2 separate regions of the Homo sapiens genome follow, and region 1 is linked to region 2. Evidence: promoter capture Hi-C in 16 types of primary human blood cells and fetal thymus (Javierre and others, 2016). All regions are on one chromosome and are shown on one strand. Each heading gives the region's core, a stretch centred on a gene start or on the middle of the fragment in contact. The rest is flanking DNA. Distances are from core to core; before and after follow the strand shown. Region 1 holds the start of SLC35B3 (solute carrier family 35 member B3). Region 2 holds the start of TMEM170B (transmembrane protein 170B).

Region 1 (7,426 bases), core at 1,766-4,265, 3.1 Mb before region 2:
CCCCATGCTTTGGAATTTTGACAGATATGAGTTCAAGATCTGGCTTTACTACTTATTAGCTGAGGAGCCTTGGGCAAATCGTTTAACTTTTCTGAGCTTTAGGTTCTGCACCTTCAAAAGTGGGAGGAGTTAAAAATGTGCCTATCACAGGATTTTGGTTAGGACTATATGAAATAAATGTAAAATTGCCTGGCATATGACAGTCCATAAGTGTGTTAGCTGTCATCCTTCAACTTTTTAGAAATATTGCTAGGGTGATATGGTGTGCTCAAGCTGACTCACCCCTTTGATGTGCAGCTGGAAATACAGACCTGAATTTCCAACGCTGCCTTCTCTCCTGAGATCCAGAGCTCTACGTCTAAATGCTTCTTTGATACCTCTACTCATAAGCTCTGCTGGCACTTCATATTTAAAATGGCCAAAGCTGATTATTTTCCCCTCAAAACAAATCTACTGTTTGTTCCTATATTCCCAATCTCACTTAACAGTACCTAGTATGAAACACAAGCTAAAAATCTGGGAGTCATCTTAAGAATCTTTCCTTTTCCTCACATTCTATATTTTGCCAAGATTCCTGTTAACTCTACCTCTATAACTATATCTAATATCTGTTTCGGACCCTACTCCATCAGGCAGCCATTTTCTCTTGCCTAGATTACGAGACTGTTTATAATCAATTCTTCCCTTTCTGACCCATCTGTCACATGGCTCAACGTGAAGTCTGATCATGCTGCATCCATGAATAAGGCCTCGAAGTTAAAAACGAGTTGATGTCCTGGACTCAATCATATTATACATATTTTTCAAATTCCTAAATGATAATGGTATAGCTTTTTCGTTTTTATACTTGTTTCTCCTAAAAGCCTATGAAATCCTTAAGGCAAGAGATATCTTCCTATGATGTTCTGGCACATAACAAAAATGTAAGATTAAATGAAGGACTCTACCACAGTTTAGCAAGCACCATTTATTTAATCAACGTTATTCAGCTCCTTTCCAACACTTTACCACTTCTAATACACTTCTTGGCAACTTTATGTGCTGCAGATCTAGGCCATATGTGCAGAATGAAATCTCTCTAGCACTGTCTTTTCTACATGTATGCCAAAATACCGACATTGCTACTGAAACTCCCCACAAAACATTTGAAATGAACATGAAAATAAATTTGTTTCCTCTGCCTGAGGCATCAGTCTCATAAAACTTGCCCACCAAAGCCTTGCATTTAGAATGCTGTTTTATTAATAAGAACATCACTGGTGAGAAAGTGTGACTGATAAAGACCTCTGATACCTAATAACTGTGATCATTGGGGAATGTCTGCCATATCCCTTCCACTTCAAACATTAATGACTGATACTAACCATCATCTAAAAAAAAAAATGGGCCAAACTCCTTGTGATGCAAGGAGCAAAAATGAAGCATGGAATTAAAATTAGTTTTCAGACTAAATGATCAACATTGTGCTTTGCTTTTGAAGCTCACAGTAATCAGTGAAACTAAAATATATATATATATATTTTAAAAATCACAGGTGTGTATAATTGCCTGAGGCCTCTTCCTAAATTCAACACAGATATTCAACTTCAACTGCTAAAATGGAATAAAAAGGTAGCATTTCCGGCATACAATGTATATTTAAAAATTAAAATTAGTGATAATGTTGAGTTACAATGACCTATTGAAGTCACAATTATTTCAGTTTATTTTTGAGTTTTCCGACCTGAAGGACAAAAGTCCCACACCAAAAAAAGGTAGAATATGAAAAAAAAGTCATTACGGTGTCATTAACCTGAAAAAACGTGATTTTAACTATACTTTGCCACACTCAACGTTACAAATAAAAGAATCTTACCATGCCATTATGCCTTGATTAACTGCGCTCCGGAATCAATCATGGCCTATGGTGTACGATTATAAAACAGAAAAAACAAAGTTCCATCTCATTTCTTTGTACACACATCATTACACAAAGGTGGAGAAACCCTGTGCTAATGTTTGAAGACTATTCTTTTTTTTTTCCAAGAGAAAAAGTTAACACTAGGACTTTATATATTAAGTAATTAAGTAAAAATAACGCTGTCTAAATTATTTTGAAATGCTGCCTCTCTTCCAAGTTCCAAACTATCTCAATTCACTTAGAAAAACGTTTAATCAAAAAACAATTCTAGGCTTCTGATATCCTAATGTAGAAAAAATGCAGATACTCAACACTTAAGATTTTGTTAGCGCACCAAATCATTCCATCTTTTACTTTCAATATTCCTTAAATAATAAAAAGACGGGAGAGATAATTCAGTTGCAAAGACTGGAGGAAACTTGCAGAACTTCTAGTGGAAGTTTATGCCATAAACTTAATAGCCCAGCCAGAACAATCACATTCTACTGCAAGCCAAATGGAGAAAAGAGTACCTTGGAGTGCCCCTATTTAATAAACACGGAACGAGGAAACAGTTAACTGTAAATACAGTCTAGAGGTATCCAGGTGACTGACAGTTCTCCAGAGACCCCGAGAACAGCGTAAAAGACCCCTTGAGGTCACCTCACCCCTGCGAGTCCACGGATTGGGACCTGAGGGAGTTCTCGCCAGCCCGAGGGCGAAAAACGGGCGAGGAGGAACAGATGCTCCTCCCTGGAAACCGCCCGGCCGGTTTCCGCTCTTTCAAAAAAGGGAATCACCCGTTTCTTCCATCCCGACCTCATCCATTCCTCGAACGCTCCTTCTGGATGAGGAAGATGGGCAGTGTCAAGGTTTTCTGGAGGAGAGGAGATCTGGGTCCCAAACACAGGAAAGGCCCCGAAGGCACGCGTACCCCAAGGCCGGTATGTCACCCGGAAGGGTGACGGCAGCCTGCGTGGCGTCTGAGCTAGACGGAGCATCTCCCCCTCCCCTGGTCCGTCGCCATCACCTCCTCTTCCTCCTCCTCCTCGCCCACTCCTGCACTTTCCACCGCGGCGGTCGCCTCCCCGGAAAGCACTCTCAACTCCGGCGCCCGCAGGCCACTTCCGCCTATGTGTCCCTGCGCGCGTGCGCAGACGCGTGGCCCCGCCTCCCGACAGGCCTGTGTGGCCGGTGGCGGGCGGGCCGTTACCTCCCGCGCATGCTCTATGGGGTAGAGACGCTAGGCCGGCACTGCCTAGGTGGGCCGGGCGGTGCGAGGGTCGCCTTTCAGCCTTTACCTCTACCCACTGAAATGGAGTAGGTCGGTGAGCGCCGATCTGCTGGAGAATCTCATTATCCCATCGGCGCTCTGCCTGCTCCTGGCCTCCAAGCCTCTGAAGCCCCTCGGGTTTCAGCTGCCGGCTACCCTCGAGCCCGTGGTGCCCACGAGAGAGGCGACTTTACGTCAGCGGCCCTGGGCTGAGATTTGAGAACGCGACCAAGTGGAGAATGTTGGAGCCAGATTTTAAAATCCTTGTCTTCCTTCTGCGTGCTACTTGATCTAAATGAGATACGGCAAAGTCACAGAACCTGTTTTTATGTTTTTGCCTGATTCATACGGGCTTCTCCGGTGAAGATGGGCCTGAAGTAACGCTTGGGTTGCTTCTGACGTTATAACTCATCCTGTAGCTGCAGCAACCGTGGTCCTTGCAACCTCATAAAAATGTTGCCAGCATTGTTTCGATAGTGCTGCTTAATTCTTGGAAGGTAAATCTCAAAGCTTGAGGACCAGCCATCAAAACTTTTGTAAAAGGTTTTCCCCGCGTTTAGGGCCTCATCCATCACCACTGAGATGTAATAACGTAAAAACCAAGACGGTTTGGGGATGAGCTGTTTTCAGAGAATAATTAAGGAAAATATTACTGTAACGAAGATGGACAATTTTTGAAAGCATGCCTTGAATACCAGAAAGGGATGAATTGGATTAATATGTATGTTAGAATCCAGTCAGTTATGGACAACTTTTAAAATTTTACAGGCACTCTTCAGAAAGGGTAGCATTTGTGTCTTGTATTGGGATCGAGGGTTTGTAAGAAAGCAAGGCACCTACTTTGGTGGTGAGAAAAAAAGGTCTGGGTAGACATTTTCGTTTAATACTTGCCAACGTTGTTAGGCTGGTGTTAGCAACACTTAGGAATGTTGGAATTAAGGCTTAGAGAACTTAAATTTCCTAAAGAGATAGTAAATGACAAAACCTTTCAGTGATGCCATATCGTCACTGTATAATGTGAATTTAGTACTACTGTTAGCCATTTATATGGTGGTTATTTATCAAGTATTTATTAAATGGGCATATGTATAGCTCATATCGTAAACTATGCGTATGAGCTCCCTGTCCTGAAGAAATTAGGGGTTTCCATGAGAAAGTAAATGGCAGTATAAAACAACTTAAGGTACAAGAGGTGTTACAAGGTACCATCTGCTCATGCCTGGACAATTGCAGTAGCCGTGAGCATAGCTTTCTGCATTCCCTTTATTTCTCTACATAGTTGCATTCAGCAGCTGGAGTGATCCCATTAGAACCTGAATATGCCACTCCTCTGTGCAGAACCTTTTAGCGGTTTACCATTTTACTCAGATTAAAGTTCAAAATTCTTACCCTGACTTTTAAGACTGAACTTATTCTTGATGGATCACATCCAAGCTACACTTCAGAGCTTTTCTAATTGCCCCCAAGCACAGCAAGCATCAGTGCTTTGTAGCTGTTGTTCCTTCTGCATGGAACACTGCCCTCTCAGATGTCCACAGAGCTTGCTTCCTCATTTTTTTCCAGTCACTGCTCAAATGTCACCTGGCTCTTCTCTGACTACCATGTCAGTGAAATATTTTTACATGTCAAATGTGAAATGTAGGAGAGACTATCTGGAGTAGTACTTATTATAGAGTAGGTGTTTAATAAATATCGACTCTCTTACAATACTTCCCATTTACTCCTGTGATAACCACGTGGTAAACAAAATTAAAGACTTGCAGCTATGAATTGTTTTTTATTGACTGATTGACTGATTGAGGCAGAGGCTCACTCTGTCGCTCAGGCTGGAGTGCAGTGGCACATCTCAGCTCACTGCAACCTCTGCCTCCTGGGTTCAAGCCATTCTCCTGTCTCAGCCTCCCGAGTAGCTGGGATTATAGGCGCCTGTCACCATGCCCGGCTAATTTTTGTATTTTTAGTAGAGATGGGGTTTCACCTTATTGACCAGGCTGGTCTCGAACTCCTGACCCCAAGTGATCCACCCACCTCAGCCTCCCAAAGTGCTAGGATTATAAGCGTGAGCCACTGCGCCTGGTCCTATGAATTGGTTTTAAATTTTTAAGAAATTAATAATTCTGTAGTATCAGAAACCTTTGGTGTCTTGATTCACATCTTCTGAGCATCACCTCTCATTTCTGACTTGGTTGTGGGGGGCAGTTTCATGCAATCTTACACATTCTTCTCCCTGACAGCTTCTCCTCTCCCACATTTACCAGGCCTCTTTGCTTTCTTCCCTGAGGTTCTTCGGACTTCACACATTCCAGCAGTAGCTCTCTCAGCTCCTGTCCTGCACAGCTTTGAAGTGCTGGTAAGTCAACACATCTGGGGCCCTTCAACCAAGGGGTGACAGTCACTGATGGATAAATGCTCTTGCTTCTTACACTTGAGCAAGATAGTTTTGTAGGCCATTCTGTGTGTTTTTCAAAAAGTCCCAGTGAAATTGGGTTCTGGTTTCTCACAACAGCAACTTCAATAACACATTCTTGTATTATGTCTATATTCTCCCTTCCATTCTCTCATTGTTTCTCACTAGGATCACATCCCAAATTACCTGTCCCCACATAAGTAGTTGTCTCAGGTTTTGAGGGAAACCAAGCTAAGAAATTTGATGTAAGAAGAAAGTCTAGAATGCAGCTCCTCAGAACTCTGGAAGTGGGTTACTTTGCAGTCAGATGACAACAAGGACTTTCTTAGTGATATTAAGGGGAGGACATGTGCATGGCCCAACAATTAAGGCTCTTTCTTACTAAAGCCGATATGACTACTGCCTCTTTGGATGTCCAGCCCATCAGCAGCAAAGATTGATGGTAAATTCCATAAGGAGAGCAATTACACAAAAGTCCTTCCTTCCTGGAGAGAGCCGTGGTTTGTACTTACGGAACTGACACTTCCCTTGATATGACTGGTCTTGTTCATGGTGCCTCTGCCAGTACCATTATATAACAGAGTTACAAACACATGATTGATTGACTTCCTTCCTTCCTTCCTTCCTTCCTTTCTTTCTTTCTTTTTTCTTTCTTTCTTTCTTTCTTTCTTTCTTTCTTTCTTTCTTTCTTTCTTTCCTTCTTTTTTTCTTTCTTTTTCTTTCTTCCTTCCTTCCTTTTTCTTTTTCTTTCTTTCTCTTTCTCTTCCTTCCTTCCTTTTTCTTTTTCTTTCTTTCTCTTCCTTCCTTTTTCTTTCTTTCTTTCTCTCTTTCCTTTCTCTCTCTCTTTTCCTTCTTTCTTTTCTTTTTTCTTCCTTCCTTTCTTTTTTCTTTCTTTCCCTTCCTTCCCTCCATCTCCTCCCTCCCTCCCTCCCTTCCTTCCTTCCTCTTTCTTTCTCTCTTTCCCTCCCTCCCTCCCTCCCTTCCTTCCTTCCTTTCTTCCTTCTTTGACACAGAGTCTCACTCTGTTGCCCAGGCTGGAATGCAGTGGCACAACCTCTGCCTCCCAGGTTCAAGCCATTCTCCTGCCTCAGCCTCCCCAGTAGCTGGGATTACAGGTGCCTGCCACTACACCTGGCTAATTTTTTTGTATTTTTGGTAGAGACACGGTTTCACCATGTTGGCCAGGCTGGTTGTGAACTCCTGACCTCAAGTGATCTGCCCACCTCAGCCTCCTAAAGTGGTGCAATTACAAGCGTGAGCCACCACACCCAGCCCAAACACATGATTTTCTGATGTATTGCCTCCAACTAAAGGACACACTTTATGGTAAAAGAGGTGTGACAATGACACACGACCATGGAATTCCACTGGTCCTACCATATATTGTATCAACTGGAGGAAATTGGCCTGATAGAACACTGACATTGTTTTGTGAACATCAGCAAGTATCCTTTTCAGGAACAGTGCTCAGATAGGGTTGAGATGCCGTCACTCCTGACACACACACACACACACACACACACACACACACACACACACACCTGGCCCTTGGGAAGTTTGGTGGCATTAACACCCCCAGGCAATGATCCACCAATGGGGAATGGGCACCTATGGATAAATGCCTTCCATTTCCTAGGAGCAATTTTTGGGAGGTGTTTTTATGTATTTTAGGATGTCCTAGATAATCAAGTCATGTGACTTGGGGGAGCGAGAAAGAGAAACCAGCAGTGGAGACTTAGAAGAAGCAGCTGTTGACATAGGATGGGTCCAGGAATGTACAGTCTTCTAAAAGCCAGGTGAAGACAATGTTTAAAGGAGGAAGGAGTGATCAACAATGTCAGTTCGTGTCAATTGGTGTTACTTAGTC
Region 2 (6,969 bases), core at 1,719-4,218:
GGACTATTGAGTTGATGCTGAAATGAGTTAAGACCTTGGGGAACTGTTGGGAAGGCATGATTGATTTTGAAATGTGAGGACATGAGAGTTGGCAGGGACCAGGGGAGGAATGATATAATTTGGCTCTGTATGGTTTTATCAAGGGTCTCCACTTTTGCGTCTTCCTCATTCTCTCGTTGCCTGCTGCCACCCATGTAAGACGGGACTTGCTCCTCCTTGCCTTCCACCATGATTGTGAGGCTTCCCCAGTCACATGGAACTGTAAGTCCAATTAAACCTCTTCCTTTATAAATTGCCCAGTTTTGGGTATGTCTTTATCTGCAGCGTGAAAATGGACTAATACGTTAAGTTGATACCAGTAGAGTGGGGTGCTTCTGAAAAGATACCTGAAAATGTTTTTCTCAAAAGATCAATATCATTTTATATTTTAATTGATTTTAAAAAGCTTTCCTCTAGGTTGTCTCTGGACAGTTTTAAAAATGACTAAGGCTAATGGGTGTTCCCTCACTTACATGAGAGAAATAAACCAGGAATTTTGGTTTATGAATTACGTTTGTGAATTGTTTCATGCTGAAGGGCACAGAGTTGAAAGGAAATTTTTGGATTCACTTGGGGTGGTCCCTGATTTCTGACAGGAACGTGACTAAACTCTTCCTGAATTGGTGTATTAATTCAAAATAAAAAATCTGTAGGAAAGAAATTCCAAAACTTTCATTTGTATTAACTCAGTTTTGGGTTTCATAACTCTGGCTGTTGGGAAAATGTCTAATTCTCTTAAGGATATAAGCTTCCAACACAGTCAAGATCATTACTTTTATCAAGGAAAACCTAAGTAGCCTAGAGAGTAGAGATCTTATCTTCAAATGTTACAGATAACACCTTGCACAGAACATTACAGATAGTAGATGCCAAATAAATATAGACGCCAATTAAATTGAACTGAACAGCAGGGGTGAAGTTGTTGGGCAGCAAATAACATTACTGACTTGAGACTTCATTGCTGTGTCTTTCTCATTTCCTGACATGAACACTTGGATTCTGTAAAAAATATTTATTCAGAACAAGAACAATGCTGACTTTTCTATGAAGATCATTCAGTGATTCATTCAACAAATATTTGTGGTGCAGGTGCCAGGCACTGTCCCAGGTTCTGAATATTTTCACTGCGTGCTACTGTGTTTTAAATAATAGTGTGCAATCCTAAGAACGTAAACTAACTAAAGGTTTCTGATATGAGAGTTTAATGAGCCCCTGCTCAGGGAGTTTGCTGTGAACCCTTCACTGAATGTGGTCACATTCCCTAACATCACTAATTATGTAATGCCAAGTCCCTTAAGAATATCATTAGGTAACCTGCACTTCCCCATCAAGAATCTTAAAGTGAGGGAGTTAACAGTGGGTTAAGAAAGATAATGTGGTTGCTAGAAAGAATAATAGACCAGGAATTCAGAAACTGAGCTGTGAAGTGCTGTCATCTCTGTCAAGTCACTTAATTCACAGAATCTGTTTCCCTATCTGTAAAATAAAATTAGAAAAATGTTAAAGCGCTCTTTTAGGTTTGATATTCTGTAATCTTGTTAATAGATCTAATTAAGTCTAAATTCTAGGAGGAAGATAAACTCTACATTAAGAGTTTTGGCTCAATTCCTATTAATGGTGCAAAAATTTCTCTTATGTTGTGACATCAAAAAGAAAATACAAATAAACAAAGAAATAAATGTGTATGTAAATATTATTTTAAAGTGGTCACCAAGAGCACCATTTGACAGGTAATTTGACCCTTCAGTGCTTTGTCAAATATACTTCATGATTTAGCTACAGCAGGTATTTCTTCACTTCTCTTTGTAAATTTTTCTTTATCCAGATGGCAGAGGGGTTGAAAAAAGGTGGGGGGAGGGGCTGGCTACTGCATATTTATGTTACTGCTAAAACTTAAATTTTTATTTTTTAAAGTTAGAAGGTTTCCAATTTCGAGGAGTTTAACTTGTAGTTGGATTTTAGATGCTCCTCTGGCTAACGCTGGACATGAAGACAGACAGCAAAGCGTGGGGAGAGAGATCTAGTTTAAGTTCGAGGGAAAAAAATAACAGACGCAACTTAGATAAAAGAATACTACCATCAAAAAAAGGGGGGCTAGAGCCGGCGATGGCCTTGAGGATTAGGACACCTGCCGAGCCTGGAGTAAACAGGTAATGTCAGGCAGGTCCTGGAACCCCGGGAGGCCCAAGTTCTTGCTGCGGGAAGAGGGATTAGCAGAATGATAACGCAGGTCTGTTTGTGTTTTAGGGGTTTTAACATGCATTCTGCAAGTAAGTGACCTATCCAGGTCATTCGATTCAGGCTCAGAAAAAAAACCCCGCAAATTAATATATCTAAATGCTGAGATAGTGACACCTTTTTAAAAAAGTTATACATAAGCATCTTTATCAAAAAGCATTACATTTTAAGGCAAAAATCTGAACTGTCACAGTATCCACCTCACCGAGTTCAGCAGCCCCACCTTGGGTCAGGGCTGCCCCTGCAGCGCGGGCCCCCGAAATGCCCGCACCGCCCACGCCGCCCGCACCGCGCGCACCCAGCCGGGCCAGGGCGAGGGATCCAGGTCTCCCGGTCTCTCAGGGCGCGCGCCCGGGGTCCGGGGGTGGGGGGCGTGGAGGCGGTTCCCTTGGAGCGCCCAATCAGCAGTAAGGCCCGGCGGTGGCGCCAGTGACGTAGACCGCGCTTCCCTCCGCCCCACTGCGGGCCGTCGCTCGGCGCCGTCAGCCACGCGCGCTGCAGCGCGAGGGGAGAGCGAGAAGGAGGGCTTTGGGGCCGACCGGCTGTTGGAGGGCGGCGGGTCGCGGGGAGCGGGGGAGTGAGCATGCGCAGCGGCTCCGGGGAGCGCAGGGGAGGAGGGGCCGGCGCTGAGAGGCGCGCGCGTGCGCGTGCACGAGTGGCCCGCCGGCGGCTGCGGGTGGAGGGGGCGGTTCCTCGAGTGTCGGCGACCCGAGGGCGGGCAGGCGGGCGGCAGGTGCCGCCGCAGCCTCTGGCTGGTCCCGCGTCTCCGTCCTCCGGCGGCGATGAGCTGGGCCCTGTCGGGGGCTGCACCTGCCGGCTGCCCATCAGCACCGGCCTCCTGGCGTGACCTCGGCCTCCTCGCGTGTCCAGTCCCCGCGGCGCGGCGCTGCCCCTGAGAGGGAGCGGCGGCGGCCTCCTCCGCCCCGAGTCCTCGCTCGGGGGCCGCGCGAGGACGGCGCCCGGCCCCCTCCCCTCCTTCCTCCGTCCGCCGTCCTCAATGTCTCCCCGGCGGGGAGGGGGCTGCCTGGGAGACACGCTGAGCGGCCCCCCCACGGAGGCCCTCCGGCTGCAGCAGCAGCAGCGCCCGGCCCGGCGTCCCGCAGCCTCCACCAGCGGCGGCGGCCTGGAGGAGCCGCGCACCCGCCGCCGCCCCCCGAGCCTCGCAGCCGCCGCCGCCGCCCGGCACCCGAGGAGAGGGCGGCGGGCGCCCCTCGGGGAAGATGAAGGCGGAGGGGGGCGACCACTCCATGATCAACCTGTCGGTGCAGCAGGTCCTGAGCCTCTGGGCCCACGGGACGGTGCTGAGGAACCTCACGGGTAATTGACGCGCCTGGGCTGGGGACGGGGATGCGGTCCGCCCCTCTCCTGTCTTCTCCTTCCTCGGGAGGGGACACGCTCCTCGCCGCCCCACCCCCGTGCGCGCCCCGCTCGGAGCTCCAGGTCCCGGCGAGGAAGGTGTTAATCGGAGCCACTCTGCGCGTGTCCCGGGGGCGCCGGCTCCCGCCACCCCCTTCCCTGAGTCGCCAGGGGAGCATCAGCGACCCCCGCTCCTGCCCCGCACGGGGAGAGCTCCCGGTGGCGGCCCGGCCTCTGTAGTACGCGCGGAGTAGCTTTAGTGCTGAGACTTGAGCGCATTTCGCTTTTATTCCATTACCCTCCTCCCCTCCCCCTTCTACACACATCGCTTCTTGCTATTTACATCTTTTTCTGATTTAGTTCTTTTTCTTTCTGGCAAATCTCAAGCCAAATGTAGAACCTAAAATCATTGCCCACAATGGTCGATTTACTTTTTCAACCGCTAATTTTTTGGGCGATGTAGATAACTGAGTAAATTATAGTGGGTCAGGGGCTGAGCTAAGGTCTAGTGCGGTCTAAGCGTGTTAGCTTCATATATCTCCTTCCCCTCCCATTTCCTTTTGTCTGTCTGTCTCTTTCCCTCAGGCCTCCAGCTGCTGCTTCTGAGACATTTGATAATTTTGTGTATTTCCCTTCATTTATTAAGGCTGTCAGTAATTGGCCTTATAACATCAATTTCTATTTGTAAAAGTGAGTGATAAAACACACAATATTTTTATTCAGTCTGTAGATTTGCTTTGTGAAGAAACTTCTGGTTTTGTTATGTGGAAATGCTTACATTATACTTTGAGTTCCGAATTTAAAAATTATTCTCTGAAGTAGAATTTACGAGAAAGAGATTCAGTTGCGATTTGGTGACTCCTCAGTGCCTGCTTTTCAGAGGAAAAAAATCTTAAAAAAATACTCAGAATTTAATTCTTGAAAATGTGTAAGGCAGTTAATTTCAGTAGAACATTAGTATTTCAAAATGCATTTTGTCAAACTGGTTAAAGTGTTGTGAGTATTTTACAAATATAACCTGGGTTCATATATATAACATATATATAAAGTCTGGCATGGTATAGAATACAAACATTCATAGAAGAAAATTTTATGGAATTATATACCACAAAAGACAACTTTAAGGACACTGGTTTCTTCGAATGGAAACTATACAGTTAAAGTAGATTCTGGATTGCTTCATGCTATCCTCACTTTTAAGCTGTGGTTATTTAACTTGAAACAGACTGACTTTACATGATGATTGCCGGTAAGGAATATATTGTTATAATTCTGGAAAACTAAATGGACATAAAGACCATCTCATGATTCAGTTGAATTTAGAGGTAGACTGCTTTATCTTACTTATGATTTTGCTTGCATTTATCCACTGTTTGGTATTTGAACTGTACCAGTTTTTGTTTAAGTGAAATGAAAAGTAGGGACTTAACATATATTTGTGCAGGCATACCTTGGAAAGATTGCAGGTTTGGTTCCAGAACACCACAATAAAGCAAATATTGCAATAAAGTGAGCCAAATGAATTTTTTGTTTTCCTAGTGCATGTAAAAGTTACATTTTACCTGTAGTCTTTAAATGTGAAATAGCATTATGTCTGAAAAAAAAGTACAGACGTTAATTTAAAAATACTTTATTGCTGAAAAATTGCTAACGATCATCTGAGCCTTCAGCAAGGACGTTATCTTTTTTCTGGTAGAGGGTCTTGTCTTTGTGTTGATGACTGCTGACTGATCAAGGTGATGATTGCTGGAGATTGGGATGATGGCAGTTTTCTTAAAACAGCAATGAAGTTTGCCACTAAGGAAGAGCAATAGACTCTTCCTTTCATGAAAGATTTCTCTGTAGCATGGGATGCTGTTGGGTAGCATTTTATCCACAGTAGAACTTTCAAAATTGGAGTCAGTCCTTTCAAACCCTGCTGCGGCTTTATCAACCGAGTTTATCTAATAGTCTAAATCCTTTGTTGTCATTTCCACGGTGTTCACATGATCTTCACCAGGAGTAGATTGCATCTCAAGAAACCACTTTCTTTGCTCATCCATAAGAAGCAACTCCTCATCCATTCAAACTTTATCATGAGATTGCAACAATTCAGTCACATCTTCAGGCTCCACTTCTAATTCTAGTTCTCTTGCTATTTCGACCACACCTATGGTTACTTCCTCCACTAAAGTGTTGATCCCCTCAAAGTCATCCATGAGGAATGGAGTCAATTGCTTTCCAACTCCTATGAAAGTTGATATTTGGACCTCTTCTCATGAGTCACGATTGTTCTTAAGGGCATCTGGAATGGTGACTCCTTTCCAGAAGGTTTTCAATTTCCTTTGCCCAGGTCCATCAGAGGAATCACTATCTCTGGCAGTTTTAGCCTTCTTACACAGTGTATTTCTTAAATAATAAGACTAGAAAGTCAAAATTACTCTTTGATCCATGGTCTGCAGAATGGATGTTGTGTTAGCAGTCATGAAAACAACATTGATCTACTTGGACATCTCCATCACAGCTCTTGGTTGACCAGGTACATTGTCATTGAAGAAAATACTCATTAAAATGAAAGGAATCTTTTTTTTTTCTGAGCAGTTCTCAACAGTGGGCTTCACATATTCAGTAGGCCGTGCTGTAAACTGATGTACTGTCATCCAGGCTTTTTTGTTTCATTTATAGAGCACAGCCAGGGTAGATTTAGCATAATTCTCAAGGGCGCCAGAATGGTAAATGAGCATTGGCTTTAATATAAAGTCACCAGCTGCATTAGCTCCTAAGAAGAGTCAGCCTGTCCTTTGAAGCTTGGAAGTCAGGGATTGACTTCTCTCTAGCTGTGCAAGTCCTAAATGGCATCTTCTTCTGATATAAGGCTGTTTAATCTACATGGAATATCTGTTGTTTGGGGTAGCCACCTTCATCAGTTAGCTAGATCTTCTGGATAATTTGTGCTTCTACATCAGCATTTGCTGCTTCACCTTGCACTTTTATGTTATAGAGGTGTCTTTTGTTAAACCTAAAGAACTGACATCTGCTAGTATCAAACTTTCTTTTGCAGCTTTCTCACATCCCAGCCTGCATGGAATTGAAGAGAGTTGGGGTCTTTCTCTGGGTTAGGCTTTGGCTTAGGGGAGTGTTGTAGCTGGTTTCATCTTCTATTTAGACCACTCAAACTTTCTTCATATCAGAGAGCAGTCTGTTTTGCTTTCTTATGATTTGTGTGTTCACTAGTGTAACACTTTTAATTTCCTTTAAGAATTTTTCTTTGCATTTGCAACTTGGCTGTTTGGTACGAGAGGCCTAGCTTTCAGCCTAACTCATCTTTGAACGTGCCTTCCTCATTAAGCTTTATCA

What was found. The method cuts DNA at HindIII sites, captures the fragments that hold promoters and counts their contacts. A CHiCAGO score of 5 or more calls a contact.
Region 1: the fragment with the promoter of SLC35B3 here is called in contact with the fragment with the promoter of TMEM170B in region 2 in 2 of 17 cell types (activated CD4 T cells and non-activated CD4 T cells); the score reaches 7.6 in activated CD4 T cells.

What each region holds. Positions count from the first base shown.
Region 1 is chr6:8,432,530-8,439,955 of GRCh38, forward strand. It overlaps SLC35B3 (solute carrier family 35 member B3), which reads right to left and starts at 3,016. Exons shown (of 10, transcript NM_001370479.2): 1 at 2,814-3,016. It overlaps LOC100506207 (a long non-coding RNA gene), which reads left to right and starts at 3,094. Exons shown (of 5, transcript NR_038980.1): 1 at 3,094-3,649; 2 at 5,411-5,502. RefSeq lists enhancers at 2,644-2,783, 2,756-3,297, 2,794-2,853, 3,054-3,223, 3,164-3,243 and 2 more. The HindIII fragment of the contact is 10,856 bases long and covers 1-3,660 here.
Region 2 is chr6:11,534,781-11,541,749 of GRCh38, forward strand. It overlaps TMEM170B (transmembrane protein 170B), which reads left to right and starts at 2,969. Exons shown (of 3, transcript NM_001100829.3): 1 at 2,969-3,594. The coding sequence starts at 3,498. RefSeq lists silencers at 2,433-3,262, 3,293-3,452, 3,553-3,632, 3,643-3,922 and an enhancer at 3,262-3,763. The HindIII fragment of the contact is 5,632 bases long and covers 786-6,417 here.